Linked DNA regions of Homo sapiens: region 2 is linked to region 1. Evidence: promoter capture Hi-C in 16 types of primary human blood cells and fetal thymus (Javierre and others, 2016). All regions are on one chromosome and are shown on one strand. Each heading gives the region's core, a stretch centred on a gene start or on the middle of the fragment in contact. The rest is flanking DNA. Distances are from core to core; before and after follow the strand shown.

The links. The method cuts DNA at HindIII sites, captures the fragments that hold promoters and counts their contacts. A CHiCAGO score of 5 or more calls a contact.
Region 2: a fragment that was not itself captured here is called in contact with the fragment with the promoter of ACTL9 in region 1 in 5 of 17 cell types (monocytes, M0 macrophages, M1 macrophages and 2 more); the score reaches 12.1 in monocytes.

What each region holds. Positions count from the first base shown.
Region 1 is chr19:8,696,546-8,702,660 of GRCh38, reverse strand. It overlaps ACTL9 (actin like 9), which reads left to right and starts at 3,866. Exons shown (of 1, transcript NM_178525.5): 1 at 3,866-5,261. The coding sequence starts at 3,960. The coding sequence ends at 5,210. The HindIII fragment of the contact is 13,278 bases long and covers 3,623-6,115 here.
Region 2 is chr19:8,588,489-8,594,603 of GRCh38, reverse strand. ADAMTS10 (ADAM metallopeptidase with thrombospondin type 1 motif 10) reads left to right here. Exons shown (of 26, transcript NM_030957.4): 13 at 1,734-1,841; 14 at 2,501-2,646; 15 at 2,741-2,804; 16 at 4,613-4,715; 17 at 5,019-5,152; 18 at 5,239-5,362. Among named protein-coding and RNA genes, the nearest start is that of MYO1F, 14 kb to the right of the region's middle. RefSeq lists an enhancer at 2,205-2,803. The HindIII fragment of the contact is 2,010 bases long and covers 1,461-3,470 here.

The DNA of each region.
Region 1 (6,115 bases), core at 2,617-5,116:
ACCATGGGTGGTCAGGAAGCAAAGGGAGTGAGAGAAACTGTGGGCAAGAGATTTTATTGTGGTTTCCCCAGGAAGGAACAGGCAAGGCAGGGTGAGCAGGCTTAGAATTGGCTAATATGAATCATTTCAGTAGGCTCTGGGGTGTGGGAGCTGTTCCTGGTTATCTGGGGTGACTGGGGCAAGAGGAGAGTGGGCTGGAGTGCAAGAGCCTGACAAGGAGGTGGCTGGGGAGTATGGGCTCTGGATTTGTTTGTTTGCACAGGAAACCTGAAGTTGCAAACAAATTATTGACTATCTCTAAGCGTTGGGTAGTCAGGAGGAGCAGTCTCTGCAGGCTCAGCAAGGCTCCAAAATGCCCCAGCCTCGAAAGAACAGAATAAAAAGACGGTGAATACAGCATTTCTTTTGCCTAGAAAGGACAGAATAAAAAGACGATGAATACAGCATTCCTTTTTGTTCTCCAGGGTTTGTGACAAGACTGCTCAAGAAATCAGTGGTTCTCGGCACTAAAGGCACAGCAGGCTGACCTAGGAAGTTTTTTTGGTTTTTTGTTTTTTTTTTTTTGAGACAGAATCTCGCTCTGTCGCCCAGGCTGGAGTGCAGTGGCGCGATCTCAGCTCACTGCAACCTCCGCCTCCCGGGTTCAAGCAATTATCCTGCCTCAGCCTCCCGAGTAGCCGGGATTACAGGCATGTGCCACCACGCCCAGCTAATTTTTGTGTTTTTAGTAGAGACGGGGTTTCTCCATGTTGGTCAGACTGATCTCCAACTCCTGACCTCCAGGTGATCCACCCACCACAGCCTCCCAAAGTGCTGGGATTACAGGCGTGAGCCACCGCGTCCAGCCAGTACTTATCATTGATGTAACAAACCCTCACATAGCACTTACTATGTGTGAACCACTGACCTAAACACTAGAAAACAATAACTTGCCCATCCTCATAGCTGCACTTTGAAGGTGGCACTATTATTACTCCCATTTTGCAAATGGGGATACTGAGTCACAGTTAGTAGTTTGCCTCAGCTATTAAGCAGAGGAGTCAGGGCTTAAATTCCAGAAGCCTGGCCCCGGATCTGTGGCCTTAGGCACATCATGGCTTTGTTGCCTATAATCACGATATTTTCCTATATTGTTGCTTCAGTATCTCAGAAGCTAGCATCTATTAAGTGCCAGACAAGGTATCCTCATTTTATCCAAGAAGAGAGGAAATGGAGGCTCACAGAGTCCCAACCTTTGTTTCTGTTCTATTTTTAGTGGGTTTTTCTTGTTTGTTTGTATGTTTGTTTGTTTGTTTGTTCCTTGAGACAGGGTCTCGCTCTGTCACCCAGGCTGGGTGCAGTGGTGTGATCTTGGCTCACTGCAGCCTCCAACTCCTGGGCTCAGGTGATCCTCCCACCTCAGCATCCCTAGTATCTCGGACTACAGATGTGAGCCACCATGCCTGGCTGTTTTGGGTGGATCTTAGATTTCACAATTTCCCAGACTCACAGTCAGCCACTGAAGTAAGTCAAAGATGTAGGCTCAACTCCTGCCTCTGTCTCATACCAGTTGTGACTTTGAACAATCACTTGACCTCTCTGAGCTTCTTTTCCATCAAAAAAATAGACATAGTACCCATTCCTAAGTCATAAAGTTGCCATAAGAAGTTGCCATGTTTTAAAATCAGAAAATGAAGAAAGGCCAGGCATGGTGGCTAATCCCTGTCATCCCAGCACTTTGGGAGGTTAAGACAGGAGGATCACTTGAGCCCAGGAGCTCAAGATCAGCCTGGGCAACATAGCAAGACCCCATTTCTACAAAAAATTAAAAACTTATCCGGAGATAGTAGCACATGCCTATAGTCCCAGCTACTTTGGAGGCTGAAGTGGGAGGATTGCTTGAGACCACGAGGTTAAGGAGGCTGCAGTGAGCAGTGATTGCACCACTACACTCCAGCCTGGACAATATAGCAAGACCCAGTCTCAAAAAAAAATTGAAAACAATAAAGTGTTATCACTTAGTGTATTTCTGGTTGTTGTGAACAGTCCAAAAAACAGACCCTCAATAAATTGCTGAGTAAATATTTCCAAAAGCATGGATTAGACCACACATACCAGTAAATCAATAATTAATTAAAATGCTCAATAAACCACACTCTGGCAGAGTAATAAATCTAGACACAACTAGAAAATTAAACCTCTTTCATTTAGATATCCCATAAGACATTCACTAGCACTATTCCTGGTGATTTCTACCACCACATGCATGAACATACACTAAGAAAAACGTTTTTATTTGCTTTAACTAACAGGTGATATCTGATATCACCAAAAACAGCCATGGTCTTGAAGCAACTCTCCTAATGCATTTTGAAGCCTGCTATTTATTGTTGAGATAATTCCTTCCTCCCAAATGCACCCTCTCCCCTTTTATCTATACTGAAACCCCTTCTTGTATCTCACTGAGCCCCTCTCCTGCCAGGAGGAAGCAGGTAACAACCCCTGGAGAGAAGGCAGACTTCCCCCATCCCTCATCTAGTTGGAGTACAGAGTAGAAATCAGGGTTGGCTTCCAGGAGGAGGTGGCATCAGACTGAGATTTGAAGAGGCAAATTCCTTCTTGGCAGGAATGGGACAGGGAGAATGATTCAGGCAGTGAATATAGCAGAGGAAGCAAAGAATCTAGGACAGGGGTGTTCCTGTCTCTCCCTGCCTCTCTCCATCCCCAACCAAGGCTGGCCTCTGTCTCCATTTGGAAACCAGGAAGCCATGCTAGCCCGCCCCACCTTCTAATTAATATTCTGAGGAGGAATATTCTAATATTCTAGGGAGGCCTGTGGCAAGCTCTCTGCCACTAGGCTGTAAATAGCTTCATGGCGAGGTACCCAGAGGAGGATTCCTGGGTCTTCCTGAAAGCGTGGCCCAAAGAGTTAGAGAAACCAATTTTGCATGTTTTTAGTGAAACCATGCCCCAAAGAAATGTTTGAGCTTGCAGAATGGCAGATCAAAAAAGAAACAACTTGCTGAAATGCCTTCCACTTATGAGGGTTTTTTGTTTGTTTCTTTGTTTGTTTGTTTGTTTGTTTTGAGATGAGTCTCGCTCTGTCATACAGGCTGGAGTGCAGTAGCATGATCTTGGCTCGCTGCAACCTCCACCTCCCGGGTTCAAGAGATTCTCCTGCCTCAGCCTCCCTAGTAGCTGGGACTACAGGCATGTGCCACCATGCCTGGCTAATTTTTTTTCTTTTATTTTCTTTTTCTTTTGAGACAGAGTCTCACTCCATCCCCCAGCCTGGAGTGCGGTGGCATGATCTTGGTTCACTTCAACCTCCACCTCCTGGGTTCAAGTGATTCTCCTGCCTCAGCCTCCCCAGTAGCTGGGACCACAGGCATGCGCCACCATGCCAGGCTAATTTTTGTATTTTTTGGTAGAGACGGGTTTCACCATGTTGGCCAGGCTGGTCTCGAACTCCTGACCTCAGGTGATCTCCCACCTCGGTCTCCCAAAGTGCTGGGATTACAGGTGTGAGCCACAGCCCCCGGCCCCAGAACTTTTCTAATAAAATTACTGCCTTAAAGCCAGCTGAGAAACAGACTTGTGCTGGATTCCTAGCTCCCAGTGGGTTGACATGCAACAAAAAGCTTGTCTTTTCTCAAAAACCAGGTGCCATCGTATTAGCTTCTAGCGCATCCGACAGAAATGTGTTAAGAGGGCCCTGCTCTGAGATGCTCATCTCCTCCTCCAAATTTGGCTCTTCAGAGAAGAGATGACAGCCTTTGGGCAGGCAGGGCTGGGCAGGGACCCATCCTCTTGGCTGCATTGTGATGTCTTAAGAAGACTGAAGGGGCACCGTGACGTCATAGATTGCGGGCCCACCCCTCCCCCTGTCTGCCTGCCCTCCCCACTGGCCGGGCCTCAACCTCTTCTCCCCGCAACCCCAACCCCAGAGGAAAAGCCCCCTCACCTGGCGTCCCGCAACCATGGATGCAAGTCGCCCCAAGTCCTCGGAATCCCAGTCCTCCCTGGAGGCCCCCAGGCCCGGCCCAAACCCCAGTCCCAACGTGGTGAACAAGCCCCTGCAGCGGGACTCCCCCGGCATGGTGGCCGACAGGCTGCCACCAAAGACCGGCGCGGTGGTTATTGACATGGGCACAGGCACCTGTAAGGTAGGTTTTGCTGGGCAGGCCAGCCCCACCTACACCGTGGCCACCATCCTGGGCTGCCAGCCCAAGAAACCCGCCACCTCGGGGCAGTCCGGGCTGCAGACGTTCATCGGCGAGGCAGCCCGCGTGCTCCCAGAGCTGACGCTGGTGCAACCCCTGCGCAGCGGCATCGTCGTGGACTGGGATGCCGCCGAGCTCATCTGGCGCCACCTGCTGGAGCACGACCTCCGAGTGGCCACCCACGACCACCCGCTGCTGTTCTCCGACCCACCCTTCAGCCCGGCCACCAACCGCGAGAAGCTAGTGGAGGTGGCCTTCGAGTCGCTGCGCTCCCCAGCCATGTACGTGGCATCGCAGTCGGTGCTGTCTGTCTACGCCCACGGTCGTGTCAGCGGGCTGGTGGTGGACACGGGACACGGGGTCACCTACACAGTGCCCGTCTTCCAGGGCTACAACCTGCTCCACGCCACGGAGCGTCTGGACCTGGCGGGCAACAACCTGACCGCCTTCCTGGCGGAGATGCTGCTCCAGGCCGGCCTGCCCCTGGGACAGCAGGACCTGGACCTAGTGGAGAACATTAAGCACCACTATTGCTACGTGGCCTCCGACTTCCAGAAGGAGCAGGCCCGGCCGGAGCAGGAGTACAAGCGGACTCTGAAGCTGCCCGATGGGCGCACGGTCACCCTGGGCAAGGAGCTGTTCCAGTGTCCGGAGCTGCTGTTCAACCCCCCAGAGGTCCCGGGGCTGTCACCCGTCGGCCTCTCCACCATGGCCAAGCAGAGTCTCCGCAAGTTGTCACTGGAGATGCGCGCGGACTTGGCCCAAAACGTGCTTCTCTGCGGTGGGTCCTCGCTCTTCACCGGCTTCGAGGGTCGCTTCCGGGCAGAGCTGCTGCGCGCTCTGCCAGCCGAGACCCACGTGGTGGTGGCTGCCCAGCCCACCAGGAATTTCTCCGTATGGATCGGGGGCTCCATCCTGGCCTCCCTGCGCGCCTTCCAGTCCTGCTGGGTCCTGCGGGAGCAGTACGAGGAACAGGGTCCCTATATCGTGTACCGCAAATGCTACTGACCAGGGCAGAGCTGGGGAGGGCGTGGGGGCAGTAAAGCCTCTGCTACAGCCGGCTCTGTCCTGTCCTTCCTCCAGGGCCTGCCCCATCCACTCCTGGGCACCTCGCCCCACAGGCTGACCTAACTCACCTCCTGTGATGCATGCCCTGAGACACCCCAATCCTGACCCCCTAAACCCACCTTCCCCATGAATAACTCCCAACAGACCACTAAGTTCTAATCCTGTCAACCCATCCTCCTGTGATCTGTGCCCCTCCCCAGGCACCCTTGGGTTGGGACACCCCCTCCCCAGACCACCTCTGACAAGTGCCCTTCCCATTTACACACTCCCAGAGATGGGGAGTTCACTACCTCAAGGCTATTGTTAGAAATATCACCTCCTCCTATGAGTCATAGATAAGCCTCCACCTGGCACCTGCCCCCAACCCCAAACATGAAGAACATGAAAGCCTCTGACCACCCACCCCATGCCCACACACACCCCTAGGGTCTGCCACATACCCAAGCCACATACCCAATTCCTTCCATTTCTAGTTTAAGTGATTCATGCATTGATCCCACATACATTCATTAATTACCCACTATGTGCCCAAGACATCCTCAAATACTGACTCCCTAATCTCACCCCATTATCTATTGCTTTTGATATAGCATCCCAAAATACCCCTGGGCTCCAAACCCTCCAAACTGCCACCCCCCTTAGTATGCTCCTCAGGGACCCCCCAACCCAGTCTCTACCCCGGAATGCTCCAACCTCCTCCCAGAATCTTCCCGTGAGTGCTCCAACCCCTGGGTGCACCCCCATAATCTTCCCCTTATTTCTAATCCCCCCAAACACACTCTTAAATTCCACTTGTCAAGATTCCACTTGTCAAGATACCCCTGGTTCTCAGCACCCCAAATCCA
Region 2 (6,115 bases), core at 1,216-3,715, 110 kb after region 1:
ATCCAGGTCTCTCATGACTCTCTAAATTTTACAAAGGGGCAGGGGAGGGGAGGAGCTGTCAAAATATCAAGCTTGGGCTGGCACTGGCTATATGTTGAATTGAGCCTTCCTTTTAGTTTTTGAAGGAACATCTTTCAGGCCATCTTGGCAAAGGGGGATTTATTTACTAAATGTGAACTGGTTAATATATGTAAAGGGTTCAGCCTGGTGCCTGGTCCAGAGATAGTGGTGGTCATTGTTACCCCATAATGGCATTGGTGCAAGTCCTTTCTTATCTATCCTGTCACGTGCCTCATAGCCATTTATATAGGCAAGACAGGCATTAGGCTGCCCATCTTGTAGATGAGTAAACTGAGGCCCAGAGAGGGGAAATATATTGCAAGTTGGTAGCAGAATTGAGGTCTCTGCACAACTCAAATATGCCACAGTGCCTCCTTGTGGAGAGGAGGACAAAAGCAGAGCTGAAATCATTATCTTGAAGAGGTGTCAGAAGTGGGATTGCGACAGGACTGATGTGATATTTTTAGATATGGCCAAGAGGACACAGTCTGAGTTTTTAGCTGAGAAATGTCCTCTATAAGGCAGAAGGCAGAGATTCTAGAGGACCTTTGAGGGAGAATGTATTTGAGAACAACTCTTCCAGCTTCTTACATATGTACAGGTATCTCTCAGGGGCTGACCTAGGAAGGGTCCTTTCCTGTGGCCATTGATCGATCCAGTCCCACATCTGGAAAGCTTACAAGAATTGGGTTCAAAGCGGGGATTACACTTGATAATTACAGAAGGACCACCTACTTCTTAGAGGAAAGACGCTGGGAGGTTGCTTAGGATGTGGGCCAAGAGGGTCAGAGAGGACCACCTACTTTTTAGAGGAAAGACGCTGGGAGGTTGCTTAGGATGTGGGCCAAGAGGGTCAGAGATTTTGCTTCACCTGAACTCACTGGGGCTTCTCCAGGGATATTAACCTGGACTTTAAGAGTCAGAGTGAGTCCCTGGGACTAGTTCAGCCCATCCAGGATTCAGACGGGAAGAAGGTGGGGCTGATTTTTCACCTGGAGAAAGAGAGGCATGTCCCACACAGACCTAACTCGGCATTGTCCCCTCCCAAACTCCCACCCCTCCACATAGCTTAAAAGTGTTGGGGGCTTCTCCAGTTTAGATGGGGGAACAAAGAGAACCAACAGCTGGAAAAAACTAGAGATGAGGCCGTTGGCCTAGTCATCATCCAGGCCGATTTCTCAGAACCACCACTTTCTCTTCGGCTACTTTGCCCATCCCATAAAAGAACCCCAAATCCTTCCTGTTCATTCCTCAGCAGTTCCCACGTTTCCTTCCAGAAACTCAGAAGGCACCAGGAACTGAATTGCAAAGTTCGTTAGAGCACAGACTCTGAATTAAAGAGCTGGGTTAAACTCCAGGCTATTCCCTTAGTAGCTGTGTGACCTTACCTGTCTGAAGCTTGGTTTTCTCCCAGTAAGATGGGGTAGTACTGCCTAAAGAGGTATATGGCATGTATAAAGTGCTCCATAAATGGAGCTTATTGGGAGAGTATAAGTCACAGGCCATGCCCCGCAAGGGGATGCACGAAGACCCACCGCGAGCCAGGAAGGGAGCACCGGGCTCTCTGCTCTGGGACCGGCAGTGAGCCGGACATCTGGGTCCTCCCAAGCCGGGCGGGCTGCCCCAGGGAGGAAGGGAGGGGGGCGAGCCTGAGCGGGCACCTCGGCCCGCAGGAGGTCTGCAGCGAGCTGTGGTGTCTGAGCAAGAGCAACCGGTGCATCACCAACAGCATCCCGGCCGCCGAGGGCACGCTGTGCCAGACGCACACCATCGACAAGGGGGTGAGCGCCGGCCAGGGCCCCCAACTGGGCCACGCCCCCTGAGCCACCTCCCGCGTTGGCCACGCCTACCCGCCTGTCCTTCGGCCTATTATCTGCTCCCTCCCACATTGGCCACGCCCGCCATTTGTGCTCCCTCGGCTGTGGCCACGCCTACTGCTTGCTCCTTCCCGCGTTGGCCACGCCCACCGTCTATGCGTCCCTTGGTTCTGGCCACGCCTACTGTTTAACTCCCTCCCGCGTTGGCCACGCCCACCGTGTAATGATTCCCACGGCTCTGGCCACGCCTACTGTTTGCTCTCTCCCTCATTGGCCACGCCCATCCCCTGTGCTGCCCTCGGCTCTGGCCACGCCTACTGCCTGTAGACCTCCCCTCCCCAGCCTGAAGCCACGCCCCACCTCGTCTCCACGCTTATCGTGGTCCTGTCTACACCCCTCCCCGTTAAGCACCCTGTGCTCAGGCCACGCCTCTCGCTTGTACCTGGTCTGTCTCCCAGACCACTCTCCTACGTAACCTGACTCTGTTCGCATGTTCAGACCCCGCCTCTGCCCATCCCGGAGAGGCTGATATCTCTGGCTGGGGCCTGGAGTGGGGAACGGTGCATGGGGCCGACGAGTGTCCTCCGGGCTGGACTCACTCCTTCCTGTCTCCCCCCACCCAGTGGTGCTACAAACGGGTCTGTGTCCCCTTTGGGTCGCGCCCAGAGGGTGTGGACGGAGCCTGGGGGCCGTGGACTCCATGGGGCGACTGCAGCCGGACCTGTGGCGGCGGCGTGTCCTCTTCTAGCCGTCACTGCGACAGCCCCAGGTCAGCCCTCAGGACCCCCACCCGGGAGGGCAGCGCGACCCCTGCCCCCATCGCCCACTGCCTCATCCCTCTCCTATCCCACCACCCTTTCCAGGCCAACCATCGGGGGCAAGTACTGTCTGGGTGAGAGAAGGCGGCACCGCTCCTGCAACACGGATGTGAGTTCCCCCAAACCCCTTGAGGGGTGGGGGGAGGAAGCATTAAAAACAGCTATCAGAGGCCGGGCACCGTGGCTCACGCCTGTAATCCCAACACTTTGGGAGGCCAAGGCAGGCGGATCACGAGGTCAGGAGATCGAGACCATCCTGGCTAACATAGTGAAACCCCGTCTCTACTAAAAATACAAAAATTAGCTGGGCGTGGTGGCAGGCGCCTGTAATCCCAGCTACTCGGGAGGCTGAGGCAGGAGAATCGCTTGAACCCGGGAGGCGGAGGCTGCAGTGAGCCGAGATCGCACCACTGCACTCCAGCCTGGGTGACAGAGCGAAACTCCATCTCAAAAAAAAAAAAAAAAACAAAAACGCTATCAGAGTGCTTCATCCAGGCACCTGCTGCCTCCTGGGGAACCTGCAGCCGCCACCCCTCTCTTCCCTCCTCTCCCTGACCCCCACCACCTTCTCGTCCCCAACCCCTCCTCCTTAAAGACCTGGCTCCTTCCAGCTCTCTTTTCCTCCTACATTTAGACTACAAGCCCCCACCTTGAAATCACTGCTTGGCCCTCACAACCCCCTACCATCCAGTCTCTCCCCTCCCTTTACAGCCCAACTTCCCCTGAAGAGTCCTACCCCTGCCTTCTGTCATCCCCCAAAGTTGTAGCTGAAGCTTCCTCTCACCAAACCCAGTGACAGGTGTCTGTCCTCTGCTTGTGCCCTCAGCTGACCTGCAACCATCAGTGAGCAGTGAGAAGTTTACTGGGGAGGGGGTGTTTTAGAGGGCAGTGAGAGCTTTGGACTTTTCAGCCTCCCAGCTGGGGGGAACCAGGTCTTCAGAGAATCCACATGCTAGCACTTTCTATAAACCCTGATCCCTTCCAGACCTTCTCTCTCAAGAAAGACTCCATGTGGCCAGGTGCAGTGGCTCACACCTATAATCCCAGCACTTTGGGAGGCTGAGGCAGGCAGATCACCTGAGGTCAGGAGTTCGAGACCATCCTGGCCAACATGGCAAAACCCCATCTCTACTAAAAATACAAAAATTAGGCCGGATGAGGTGGCTCATGCCTGCAATCCCAGCACTTTGGGAGGCCGAGGCGGGTCAATCACCTGAGGTCAGGAGTTCGAGACCAGCCTGGCTAACATGGTGAAACCCCGTCTCTACTAAAAATACAAAAAATTAGCCAGGCGTGGTGGCACGCGCCTGTAGTCCCAGCTACTTGGGAGGCTGAGGCAGGAGAATCACTTGAATCCAGGAAGCGGAGGTTGCAGTGAGCCGAGATTGTGTCACTGCACTCCAACTAGGGCAACGAGAGCGAAACTCTGTCTAAAAATAAATAAATAAATAAATAAATAATGCAAAAATTAGCCAGGCATAGTGGCATGCACCTGTAATCCCAGCTACTCGGGAGGCTGAGGCAGAAGAATTGCTTGAACCCAGGAGATGGAGGTTGCAATGAGCTAAGATCATGCACTGTACCCCAGCCTGGGCGACAGAGTGAGATTCTGTCTCAAAAAAGAAAAAAAATGCAAGCAAGCAAGAAAGATTCCATAGCCTGGAACCAGAAACCCAGGTGTGTCCTGCCCAGCTCACCCTCAGACCTCTAATGAGGGATCCAGTCCTATCCCAGATGTGTCTACACGCCCAGCCCAGGCTACCTTCCAGGCCTAGTCTCACGCAGACCACCACAGCCTCCTCCCTGGCCTCCCTGCCTCTAGCCTCCCTCCTCCAGCCCATCTTTCTCTGAGCACCCCTTTTCTGACTCCATCCCCCCAAGCCTGGCCTCCCTCCATCTCTCCTCTCCTGCCCCCAGGACTGTCCCCCTGGCTCCCAGGACTTCAGAGAAGTGCAGTGTTCTGAATTTGACAGCATCCCTTTCCGTGGGAAATTCTACAAGTGGAAAACGTACCGGGGAGGTGAGTGTGGGACTCCAAAGGCTGTGGGGCCGTGAAGGGCAGCCGTGGGAGTGTCCAGCAGCAGGTGGATGAATGCAGCATCCCGGGGTCTGCCCTGAGCCCTGTCCCCACCCGGGGAGACAGAGTACCTGGGATACGGTACCATGGGGGTTCAACGTGACGCTGGGAGCCCCCACTCCCTCTGCCCAAGCTGCCCTTCCTCTTGGGTCTGGGGTCTGTCCCTCTTGGCCTCACTCCCCCAGGGAGCAAGCAAAGAGTTCCGGGGTGGCCTGGCCCGTGGTGTGACGGGGCCGTGCCCCCCAGGGGGCGTGAAGGCCTGCTCGCTCACGTGCCTAGCGGAAGGCTTCAACTTCTACACGGAGAGGGCGGCAGCCGTGGTGGACGGGACACCCTGCCGTCCAGACACGGTGGACATTTGCGTCAGTGGCGAATGCAAGGTGGAGGGGACTCCCAGGGAGGTGGAGAGGGGATGGGGAGCGGGGGTGGGTTAGGGGGTCGCCTCACTCACGCCTTCTCCACGCAGCACGTGGGCTGCGACCGAGTCCTGGGCTCCGACCTGCGGGAGGACAAGTGCCGAGTGTGTGGCGGTGACGGCAGTGCCTGCGAGACCATCGAGGGCGTCTTCAGCCCAGCCTCACCTGGGGCCGGTGAGAGTCTCCAGCTTCCCTCCCACACTCCCTGCATGGGCCAGCTGACTGCAGGTGGAACTGATCCCAGTGCAGTAGCTGAGATCACTAACTCCTCAGACCCCAGGGGCCCCGTGGAGTGTCAGGAGTCCCCAAAAGTCCTGCGGGCTCAGCCAGGTGAAGTGGCTCAAGCCTATAATCCCATCGCTTTTGGAGGCCGAGGCAGGATGATCACTTGAGGCCAGGAGTTTGAGACCAGCCTGGCCAACATGGTGAAACCCTGTTTCTACTAAAAATACAAAAATTAGCTGGGCGTGGTGGCGAGCACCTGTAATCCCAGCTACTCAGGAAGCTGAGGCACGAGAACTGCTTGAACCTGGGAGGTGGAGGTTGCAGTGAGCCGAGATCACACCACTGCACTCCAGTCTGGGCGACAGAGCGAGGCTCTGTCTCAAAAAAAAAAGAGTGTCTCAGGAGACAGGAGCCCGAATCTGTCTCCTCTGCCTCCTGGAGAAGCTCATGCCACGTCTGGGTGGAAGCAAGCATCACTTTCCATCCTCTGTGAGCCAGAGGAGCTGCGAGAATGAATGTTCTGTGCTAGCAGGGAAAGGCTTACTACGGGAGGGGATATTCAGAGAATGTAGAAAGCACCTTTTCCAGCTTGGGCTTTGGGCAAGTGACAGAGAGCCCAGGGAGTGGGCAAGAGGGGAGGAGGCTCAGGAAATATCTGGAAGGCTGAGGAAGCCGTAGGCACTGTCAGAGGGAGGGAGTGTG